Linked DNA regions of Homo sapiens: region 1 is linked to region 2. The links are contacts of gene promoters, found by promoter capture Hi-C in human tissues and cell types (Jung and others, 2019). All regions are on one chromosome and are shown on one strand. Each heading gives the region's core, a stretch centred on a gene start or on the middle of the fragment in contact. The rest is flanking DNA. Distances are from core to core; before and after follow the strand shown. Region 1 has its middle 26 kb from the start of MED9. Region 2 holds the start of RASD1 (ras related dexamethasone induced 1).

Region 1 (5,830 bases), core at 168-2,667, 44 kb after region 2:
CAAGATTTATGTTAAATTGAATTTTGGAGGCTGCATTCGTGTGTGACAGTTGACAGGGAAAAGCAGCCAACGCAAACAGCCCTCCCGGCTCCATCCAGCCTGACCCAGTTAGGCAACATAGGGGTGACCACAAACCTGAACACTGGCGACAAGGGGCAGGCACCCAATGGGCTGTAAGTAAGGGCACCAAGTCCCTGGAACCCAAGAAGGCTGCACCTACGAAGGAAAAGCTCAAATGACAAACGCCAGAATAGACAGACACCCCATCACGGCAGCCTGAGCCCAGCTTTGTTCTTAAGGCCTACTTCCAGGCTTGTACAAGAAATGGCGAGATGAATTTTCTCTCCCAATCTAGTTGCTTACTTGGGCTGTGGCTTGCATTCTCCAGACCCAATCAAACAGCACTGATTTTTTTTTTTTTTTTTTTTTTTTTTGAGACAGAGTCTTGCTCTGTTGACCAGGCTGGAGTGCAGTGGCTCAAACTTGGCTCACTGCAACCTCTGCCTCCCAGGTTCAAGTAATTCACTTGCCTCAGCCTCCTAAGTAGTTGGGGACTACAGGCATGCACCACCACACTTGGCTAATTTTTTTTTTTTTTTTGGTGGAGATGGGGTTTCACCATGTTGCCCAGGCTGGTCTCAAACTCCTGACCTCAAGTGATCCGCCCACCTCAGCCTTCCAGAGTGCTGAGATTAAAGGAGTGAGCCACTGCGCCTGACCAGCACTGATTATTCTTAAAGTCCAATGAAAGGGCCAAGATTTGTGTGCAAGTCTGTACATGCAGGCAGGCGGTGGTGGTGGGATTGAGAGTCTAAGAGGTAAACCTTGCCAGGGGCCAGCGGGGCTTTGTTGGGAAGCACTGCTTTAAATACATAGCAGCAACCACATTCTGAGTACCTTCCATGTGCCAGACCCTGAAAAAGCTTCTCTCACATGAGGTATTTAATTTAATTTTTAAAGTAGTATATTCAATAGCAAGCAAAGATCACCACTACAAGCCAGGCATCGTTCTAGGCATTGGGGAGACAGCAGCAACGGAGAAGACTTCCAAGAAGGCTTGCTTTTGGTGGGACTTCTAAAAGGGGAAGATAAAGACAACATTTAAACAAAAACATAACTTCAGATGGTGAAATTAGAAGCCCTGGGTTGATTCTCAGATACACTCTTGCGGCAGAGACTGCCTAGTTGTTCCCCATTATCGAGGCTCTTCTATAGCAGCAGAACCCCAAGTTTTACCTGCATGCATAGTCACTTAGGACCCAGACTTTATTCTCCCAGCCTCTCTTTCTGCTAGGTGAAGCAATTGACTAAATTGCAGCCAATGAGATGTAAGCTGAAGCCGTATATACAATTTTAGGAAGTGTCCCCTACAGGGACAGGGTGGGACCTTCCTCCCTTTACTTGTTTTGTTTGTTTGTTTTTGTTTTGAGACAAAGTGCAAAGTGTCACTCTGTCACCCAGGCTGGAGCACAGTGGTTTTTTTTTTTTTTTTTTTTTTTTTTTGAGACGGAGTCTCGCTCTGTCACCCAGGCTGGAATGCAGTGGCGCGATCTTGGCTCACTGCAACACTGCAACCTCCCGTTCAAGCAATTCTCCTGCCTCAGCCTCCTGAGTAGCTGGGATTACAGGTGCACGCCATCATGCCTGGCTAATTTTGCATTTTTTGTGGAGATGGGGTTTCACCGTGTTGGCCAGGCTGGTCTCGAACTCCTGACCTCAAGTGATCCACCTGCCTCGTCCTCCCAAAGTGTTGGGATTACAGGCGTGAGCTACTGCGCCTGGCCCTTTCCCTCCTTTTTGCTGCCTAGAATATGGACACAACGGCTGGAGCTTCAGCAGCTATCTTGGACCATGAAGGAAAAATAAACAATTTTGTTTAGTTCATGGTGCTCTGGAGTTCGATTTTTGTTATTCACAGCTGCACCTAATTTTGTTGTCTTTCCTATTAATTGTGTAACTTGGGGTAAAACTGGCTCAGACCTTCTGTTCCCTCAGCTGTGAGATGGGATTGATGATAATGCCTACTTCATATTGCACTATGCTGGTGGCTTTCAAACTTCAGCATGCGTCAGAATCCCCTTGGCATGTTAAAACACAGAATGCTGGGCCCCACCTGAAGAACTTCCGATTAAGTAGCAACCTGAAAACCAGTAAGTCTAACAAGTTCCTAGATGCTGTTGCAGCTGCTGCAGATCAGAGACTACACTGAGGCCTGCAGTCCCTGCAGGGAATGACCTAGGAAGGTCTAAATTGCCCATACAAAGCCAGCGTGTTTGGCTTCTCTCCCATTTAACAAGATTTATGCATCCTGTCAAATATGCTGCCAGTCACCTCTGGCCTCTTCTATGCCTGCTCCTTGGCTTCAGGGACCCTGATCCCCACTTTCTGGAGCAGTGAATCTGATGCAAATGCTGTTTACAGAGGGATCTGTCAGTGGCCCATCCCCAGGAGGGACTTCCATGTGACAAGCCCGGCCTCTGACCCACTCCTCCACTGCAAGGAAATGATCCCCACTCCAATGCGTCACAGAGCAGCCCATCGCATGGGTCATTCCGCAGAAGAACTACCTTCTGGACCCTTCCTTCTGCCACCATATGCCATTCTGCTATTTGCAGAGGTGAGTGGGTAGGGACAGCTCTTCACCAGGGGCTGCCAGACAGTCAGTCAGAAGCATCATTTTCTTACTTAGGATTCCCATGGGAGGCAGAGGGTGAATCTCAAGGCTGGGATCCCTGTCTCCACTGGCCGCTTCAGCAATGCCCAGACCACCGCTCTGCCCAGCGAAGGAGCCTGCCCTCTCCTCCGAAAGGAAGCTCCCCTGCCCTCAGGGAGGAGCCTCCCTCTGGAAGGGCTGCTGCCAGGAGCAGTGGCAGCCCAGGAGGCTTCCCCCTCCCTCATATCCCTCTTGGAAGGGACTGATCCTCCTCTCAGGGCTCCTGCATGCTGGCGACATCCCAAGCCCTGCCCAGGACAGCACCATCAGTGCAGCTCTCAGTCCCCCGCCCCAGCCATTTCCATCAAGGGGGTGGGTATTATCTGTTAAACCGCTGTGCGGCATCAGGCAGGTCTAAGGGGCGGAGATGCACTTGTGTCCCTTAACTAGTGGTTAAGAGGACAGCTCTGATCAAATCCCAGCTCTGCTACTCTTTAGTGACATGGCCTTGTAACTAAGGCCGCAGCTGTGCCTGGCCTGTGGCTGAACCTCTCTCTGAACCTCAGTTTCCTCCTCTGTAAAGTGGGGACAATAGTAGTGCTTATAAATGGCATCAACCAAGGTGCTTAGCTGTAAACAACATAGACCAACTCTGCTCACTTTAGCAGAAGCATTTCTTAAGAGGGTATTGGGTACACACTGGTGCCAAAAGACAGGCATAAGAATAGAATATTCCTAGCAGCACCATTCAAACATCAAATGTCCATTCACAATAGAACAGGTAAGCTGGTTACGGCCCTTCACACCAGACAGCACGGAGGATGGAGAAACCTCAGCTACGTACAGCAGCATGGATGACTCTCACCCACGCTAACTCAAAGAAGCCAGACACGAAAAGGGTGTGCACTATATCATGCTGTTTCTATAAAGCTCAAAAACAAGCAGAACCAATCTAGAAATCTGGTGGTGGTTATGTTTGGGAGGAGAGACCCTGGGAGAGTCTCTAAGGTGCTGGCCCTGTTCTATTTCTTGGTCTGGGTTCTGATTACATGAGTGTGTTTGCTTTGTCAAACTTCATTGAACTGCACACTTAGGATCTGTGATCTTTTCTGTATGTATCTGATACTTCAATAACAAAATTAACTTTGAAAAAAAGCAGAAGGCATGTTTGGTTGCTCATGGATGTGCTGGGAGAATCAGAGAGCTAGGCCTGAAAGCCAGAGTCCAGAACACTGCCCCTAATTTTTTTTTTTTTTTTTTTTTGAGATGGAGTTTTGCTCTTGTGACCGAGGCTAGAGTGCAGTGGCACCATCTCTGCTCACCGCACCTTCCACCTCCCAGGTTCAAGCAATTCTCCTGCCTCAGCTTCCTGAGTAGCTGGGATTACAGGCTCCTGCCATCACACCCAGCTAATTTTTGTATTTTTGGTAGAGACAGGGTTTCACCATGTTGGCCAGGCTGGTCTCGAACTCCTGACCTCAGGTGATCCGCCCGCTTCGGCCTCTCAAAGTGCTGGGATTACAGGCATGAGCCACCGCGCCTGGCCAACACTGCCCCTAATTAAGGCATGGAGCTGTTTCAAGGGAGGAAAAGGTGGCAGGCGTTGCAGCCAGAGGGGCTGGTTCAAATCCCAGCTCTGCCAGTCCTTAGTTATGGGACTTTGGACAAGTCTCTGGATCCCTCTGAGCTGTGTCCTCATCTGTACGATGGGGTGCCAGCCCACAGCTTATCCCACCACTGTCCACACTGGCACTGCCTGTTATCATGCCTGGCAGAATGGATCCCGGATGGTACCTGCCCCTTCACAGCTGAGCTCAGGGTGAGCACATCTGATTGGCCAGCCCTGGGCACATGACCACACTACACCCTGCAGCATGTGGAGGTCAGTGCGAAGCTGGGTGCAGGGTCTGGCTCAGGGGTTCCATGGAGCCCCAGGGTGGGCTTTACCCGCCAAGATTCTGACTTACCTGATCTGGGGAGAGTCTGGAATGTGGCTGTTCTTTTTAAGCTCCCCAAATGATTCTAGTGTGAGTCAAAGTTGAGAACCACTGCCCTGAATCTTTATCTTTGAATCCTGAAAACTTTCTAAAAGGAAAACGATCCCAGAACCTTCAGAGTTTCTGTCCATTCGAATCTAGTACTAGTATACCTCGTTTGAAATTAACCTCATCTAGCGCCATCTAAGCTCAGAAAATGAAGCCATTGTGGGATCATTTGCCAAAGGACTTGTTGACATCTGTTTTTATTCTTTTTTATTTTATTTCATTTTTCTTTTATTTCCTTTTTTGTTTCTTAATCCGAGTGAACTCATAAAGTCTGTTTTTAAGTGGTACTTAAGCAGTTAAAATATGACTCAGTTTGACTCCATTGAAACTGCTTTAAATAATTTCCAAACAAGATGAAGTTAAGAGTAAATAAAATAGTCACGTTTGGGAGCATGAAGGAGCCGGCAGCTTTTGACGGTCTGGTGATCAGGCAGCCACGCAGGACCAGGTCTCGACTGTCCTTGGGTTTTGTGGAGCATTAAAAAGGAATAAGGAAATGGGGTGGAGGAGGTCAGCTAATTCTGGGAACAAAGCTAAGACTGCTGTGACTGGGGACTGGTGGGGTCATCAACTCTTTCTTGGGTAACTTTGGCCATGCTTTTTTTTCCTCTGCAGAGTCTGAAAAGGCTACCTGCTTTAGTTTCCTGTGGTTGCTGTAATCATTACAACAACACAAATGTAATGTCTCACTGTTCTGGAAGCCAGAAGTCCAAAACCAAGGTTTCTGCAGGGGTTTGCGCTCTAAAAGCTTGGGGGGAGGATCTTTCCTACCTCCTCCAGCTTCTGGTGGCTCCAGGTGTTTCTTGGCTTGTGGCCACATCACTCCAATCTCTGTCTCTGTCTTTGCGTGGTCTTCTTGCCTGTGTCTCTGTGTCTTCTCCTCTTCTCTTACAAGGACACTTGTCATTGGATTTAGGACCCACTTGGATGATTCAGGGTGATTTCACCTCAAGATCTTAATTGTATCTGCAAAGACTCTGTTTCCAAATAAGGTCACATTCTGCATTTCTGAGACATGGACATCTTTTGAGAGGGTCATAATTCAGCCCACTCCACCACCTTTGCTCAAAGGATGCTTCTGCATTTAACTTAGATTCAGCATCCTGATTCCACAAGTGTACTTTGGCCTAGC
Region 2 (5,273 bases), core at 1,302-3,801:
AGAAGGAAAAAGGGCACCTGCATGAACAAAGAGCTGGGTGGCAGAGGCTGCACCGGGGTAAGACTTCCTTCATGCAGTTGGGAGTCCGCCCATGTGGGGACATCAGGAGATGCCACCCCACAGAATTGGTGGCTAGGCTGTCCTGGGTGTGGCCGAGAGAGGCCTGATCCCAGTGCTTCTTTCATTCTGGTCCTTTCTGAAATGGCTTGGGTTTTTAAAAAACCATGAGCATTTATTACTTTTGTAATAAAAGGAAAGAGATGCCCTTTTAAAAGAAAAGACGAGGGCGGAAACAAGGAAGTTGGCTTGCTGCTTGAGGAGTAAAGTCCCAGAGGCCACCTCCTTGACAGGAGGCGCTCTGGGGCATTCAGAATGGGAATGGCAGGTGGGCCTGGGTCTTCACAACCCAGCATCCGTAGGGCAGACGGCCATGCACAGATGGTACCAGGAATCACTGTGGCTGAGGACACAGGCTAGATCAGTGCCTGCCAGTGTCATGTTCCTGATTTAAGGGGCCAGCCTGGACACTGACCAGGGGAGAGCTGGGCTGTGATCCTTGACCCTCGGGCCCTCCACTCATATCAAATGGACCCTCTTGGGACTAGAGCCCCAGGAGGCAATGGCTGTGTGGGGTCCACCTTCACTATAGCCCTGGCCATCAGTCATCCCAAGTTAGAGCCCGGCTGCCCATGCAGTGCCGCTGTGGGAGGCACAGGAAGGCGGTGCTCAGTCTGAAGGTGGTTCAGGTCCGTACCTTAACTGAGCCCCCCCATGTACCCTCAACTGGCTCCTTTATGCAGTGAACACCCTGCACCACTGCAGCCCTATATCCAGGGCTGCGACTCAGTTCCTTCTCCCCTTCTCCCAGACTCTGGCAGACATACCTCAGATGGGGGCAGGAACCAAGAATGGCGGGGCTCCAGCCCCAGCTAGCCTGTCGGATAACTGCTGCATAAGTGACACCAGGAATCAGAGCCAGGCCAGGGCCACTGATGAGCCCTTGGATGCTCACTGTGTGATGCGTGCATTTGAAATATCTGACAGTAAGAGTGAGGCCTGGGAGAGATGCAGGGACTCTGAGGATGGGGGCCAAGCTGGGCTGAGAAACAAGTTAGTGGTGTCCTGCAGCAGCCCCTACAGCAAGTGCCAGCGTGGGAGGGAGGTGGGTAGGCATGGGGTGGGTGGTATGGCACTCACAGCACTGCCTGCAGACCACCACCTGACAGCTGGGCCGGTGGTGCCAGCTAATGGCTCCCTAGTTTTCTCGTAAGTCAGACGTGGCCAAAGCAAAACACTGAGCACACAGGTTGCCTTGAGGAGCAGTGACTGCCTCAAGAGCTCAGGGCTGAGGAGCTGGCTCCAGACAGCCTGTTGCCAATGTTCAGCAACATCACCCCACTCCTGGTTACTGATCGACCTGGTGTGCTCTTGAGAGTACCCCCACCAGGCCTCATGGGTCAATACTACTGTTATTGTTGCTATTGTTATTACCAGGCCCCGCCCTCCTAAAGCATTTGCATATTTTCATCCTTAATCACAGAACCAGAATCAGTATCTTCCAGAAGAGAAAACTGAGGCCCAGGAGAAAGCAAGAGGCTGTGCTGTGCTCCCAGGGCCTTCCTGGCTCGCTGTGGCTTTGAGCTCCAGGTCTCTCAGCTAGACAATGAGAACGTCGGCCCACGCGCGGCACAGTAAAAGCCCAAAATGCTATGATGGACGGGGTGGGCCGCTGGCTGCAGAGCCCTCCATACCACAGAGCATCTCTGGCTGGGAGAAAGGAGCAGGCTGAGGCCTGCAGCAGAGCGCGGGGTTGGGGACCGCTCCTGTTGGGCCCCAGCAAGGCGCCCTGAGACCCCTGCTCCATCCCTGCCGCTCCCCACCCGCCTGCTCCTAGCCTCTGTTCTAGCTCTGCCCGCGGCGGCCACAGCCTCCCCGAGCCGCCGGCCGGGCCCTCTGCTGCCCTCTGGCGGCCCGAGCGCGCGGTGCCGAGCTCCGCGCCTGAGGCCCTGAAACCCCGCGTCCGCCCGGCGGTCGCCTCCCGGGAACAAGAGCCCGGCTGGGGACCGGAGCGGAAGGGGGCTGGGGCTGGGGCTGTGCTCTGAGGACTGCAATATACGGTCCGCGCAAGCACTCAGCAAACGCTGCTGCGCTTACTGGGTTACTTACTAGATTCCTATTCTCTGGGGAAACTGAGAACCAAAGAAAATAAGTGTACGCGCGCGGGAGGTGCAGGAATGGGGGTCCTTGCCCGAAGTCGCAGAGGGACAGGGGCACCGCCGGGACCAGAACCCCGACGCCCCTGCGGCCGCCGAGCCCGCGGCAGTGGAAAAGCGGAGTCCGAGCGCCTCCAGCCTCAGCCCGACCCTGGACTGCTCCCCCCAGCCCCCGCGCCCAGAGAGCAGGAGCCCGGCAGCGGGTGACGAGGTCGCCGGGACTGGGAGCCGGTGCGGGGGAGGCGGGCCCCGCGGGGCGTGACGCACCGAGCTGGGAGGGCCGGGGCGGGGCAGCCGAGCAGGCTGCATATAAGGGCGGCGGCCGGGCGCCAAAGCCAGAGCAAGCGGCCTGTGCCCAGATCCTGGGAGAACCCCAGCCGAGCCCAGCCTAGCCCGAGCCCAGCCCGAGCGGAGCCGGAGCCCCAAGCCCGAGCCGCGCCCAGCCCGAGCAGAGCCCTCCAGCCGCTCACCCCGCGTGCCACCCCAGCGACCCTCAGCCGCTCTCTGCCCTTCTCTCGGCCCCGCGCCCGCCCTCGCGGCCCCTCTGCCCAATGAAACTGGCCGCGATGATCAAGAAGATGTGCCCGAGCGACTCGGAGCTGAGTATCCCGGCCAAGAACTGCTATCGCATGGTCATCCTCGGCTCGTCCAAGGTGGGCAAGACGGCCATCGTGTCGCGCTTCCTCACCGGCCGCTTCGAGGACGCCTACACGCCTACCATCGAGGACTTCCACCGCAAGTTCTACTCCATCCGCGGCGAGGTCTACCAGCTCGACATCCTCGACACGTCCGGCAACCACCCGTTCCCCGCCATGCGGCGCCTCTCCATCCTCACAGGTGAGCCGGGGGCCGGGCAGGTGCGGGAGGGAAGGGCGGGGAACCCTCGGCCAGGGCGCCCCGCGAGCGCCGGTCCGGCTGCCGCGCGCCGAGTAGTGCGCTTCGCGCTTAGAGAGGCTAGCGCGCCCCGCGCGGCCTCAAAGTCAGCCCGACTTGTCCCCTGGGCGGCCACCCTCACCTTCTCCTTTTCTGCTCTCTGTGCCCCCTCTAGGAGACGTTTTCATCCTGGTGTTCAGTCTGGACAACCGCGACTCCTTCGAGGAGGTGCAGCGGCTCAGGCAGCAGATCCTCGACACCAAGTCTTGCCTCAAGAACAAAACCAAGGAGAACGTGGACGTGCCCCTGGTCATCTGCGGCAACAAGGGTGACCGCGACTTCTACCGCGAGGTGGACCAGCGCGAGATCGAGCAGCTGGTGGGCGACGACCCCCAGCGCTGCGCCTACTTCGAGATCTCGGCCAAGAAGAACAGCAGCCTGGACCAGATGTTCCGCGCGCTCTTCGCCATGGCCAAGCTGCCCAGCGAGATGAGCCCAGACCTGCACCGCAAGGTCTCGGTGCAGTACTGCGACGTGCTGCACAAGAAGGCGCTGCGGAACAAGAAGCTGCTGCGGGCCGGCAGCGGCGGCGGCGGCGGCGACCCGGGCGACGCCTTTGGCATCGTGGCACCCTTCGCGCGCCGGCCCAGCGTACACAGCGACCTCATGTACATCCGCGAGAAGGCCAGCGCCGGCAGCCAGGCCAAGGACAAGGAGCGCTGCGTCATCAGCTAGGAGCCCCGCCGCGCTGGCGACACAACCTAAGGAGGACCTTTTTGTTAAGTCAAATCCAACGGCCCGGTGCGCCCCAGGCCGGGAGCGCGCGCGGACTGGCGTCTCCCCTCCCGGCGATCCGCCCCCAGCACTGGGGAGGCGCCACTGAACCGAGAAGGGACGGTCATCTGCTCCGGAAGGAAAGAGAACGGGCCAAGACTGGGACTATTCCCCACCCCCGGTCCCCCATTGAGGCCCGCCACCCCCATAACTTTGGGAGCGAGGGCCCAGCCGAGGGTGGATTTATCTTCTCAAAGACCTAAGAGTGAGCGCGGGGTGGGGGAGGGATGTGAAGTTATCCAGCCTCTGCTAGGCTTCAAGAAACCGTCATGCCCGCTTGAGGGTCAGGACCCACGGGGCATTATCTTGTCTGTGATTCCGGGTTGCTGTGACAGCCGGTAGAGCCTCTGCCCTCCCAAAACTAAGCGGGGGGGCGTGGGTCAAATCATAGCCAAGTGACTTGTTTACATGTGAGTGAAACTGCACAAAGGAACACAAAACAAAACTTGCACTTTAACGGTAGTTCCGGTGTCAACATGGACACGAACAAAACCTTACCCAGGTGTTTATACTGTGTGTGTCTGAGGTCTTTAAAGTTATTGCTTTATTTGGTTTTTTAATATACAATAAAATAATTTAAAATGGAAAACCGGTTTTTTTTTTTTTTTTTTTGCTTTTAGAGATGGCTGGAGTGGGGAAGGGTGGGGAGAAGGAAAGGGCTGGGCTTTGACTTAGGTGGAACTAGAACTTACCTTCCCCAGAACTGGAAAATAACCCTGGCCTTCTGAAGGCAGCTTCAGCTGCCAGAAAAGCCCCAGATGCCTGGGGCATCTATGTAGGGGATGGTTCCCTAGAAAACCGGGAAGAATATAAAGGATTTCAGGGTCCCCCCTGGAGATGAACTCTTTCTAGCCATCCACCCGCTTAATTTTCTTTGGGTTAGATGACAAAAGGCCTCATTTTCTGAGAGAATGTTCTGAATTCTTCAGCGTAAAAGCCACTGGAACTGTGCCTAACCATTTTGTCACCAGACTCAGTGTGGGCCCAGGCAAACTTTCGGACTGTTGGAGGCATCAGTCAGGCCCTGGGGAAAGAGCCTGAGACCCCATCTGGAAACAGGACCATCCTGGCGCGCCCCCACCACCCGCTCACTCCAGGGTGCCACCCTGTCTGGAAACAGCTAACTCCTCAGCCTCTGCTCCCCTCTAGCTCCAGGAAGTGCTCCTGGCCAGGTGTAGAGCCCCATCCCCCTTCAGCCTTGCTGTCTCCGTCTCATGGCTAAGGCACCCCAGAACACCAATCTCTCTGCCACTAGTACTGCAAACCTGTTGGTGGGTGACACCTGCCAAGCCTCTAATTCTTCACCCCGGGAAGAGAGAACACCCTCGGCATGGGCTCACTGTGGGGATTAAG

The links. Contacts are between HindIII fragments. The study calls those that stand out against the background at their distance.
Region 1: a fragment that was not itself captured here is called in contact with the fragment with the promoter of RASD1 in region 2 in 1 of the 25 tissues and cell types used here (mesendoderm cells).

What each region holds. Positions count from the first base shown.
Region 1 is chr17:17,447,611-17,453,440 of GRCh38, reverse strand. No RefSeq gene overlaps it. Among named protein-coding and RNA genes, the nearest start is that of MED9, 26 kb to the left of the region's middle. RefSeq lists an enhancer at 2,849-3,350. The HindIII fragment of the contact is 3,536 bases long and covers 1-3,185 here.
Region 2 is chr17:17,493,673-17,498,945 of GRCh38, reverse strand. It overlaps RASD1 (ras related dexamethasone induced 1), which reads left to right and starts at 2,551. Exons shown (of 2, transcript NM_016084.5): 1 at 2,551-3,050; 2 at 3,262-4,509. The coding sequence starts at 2,765. The coding sequence ends at 3,821. RefSeq lists silencers at 1,831-2,060, 2,111-2,240, 2,401-2,620. The HindIII fragment of the contact is 34,145 bases long and covers 1-5,273 here.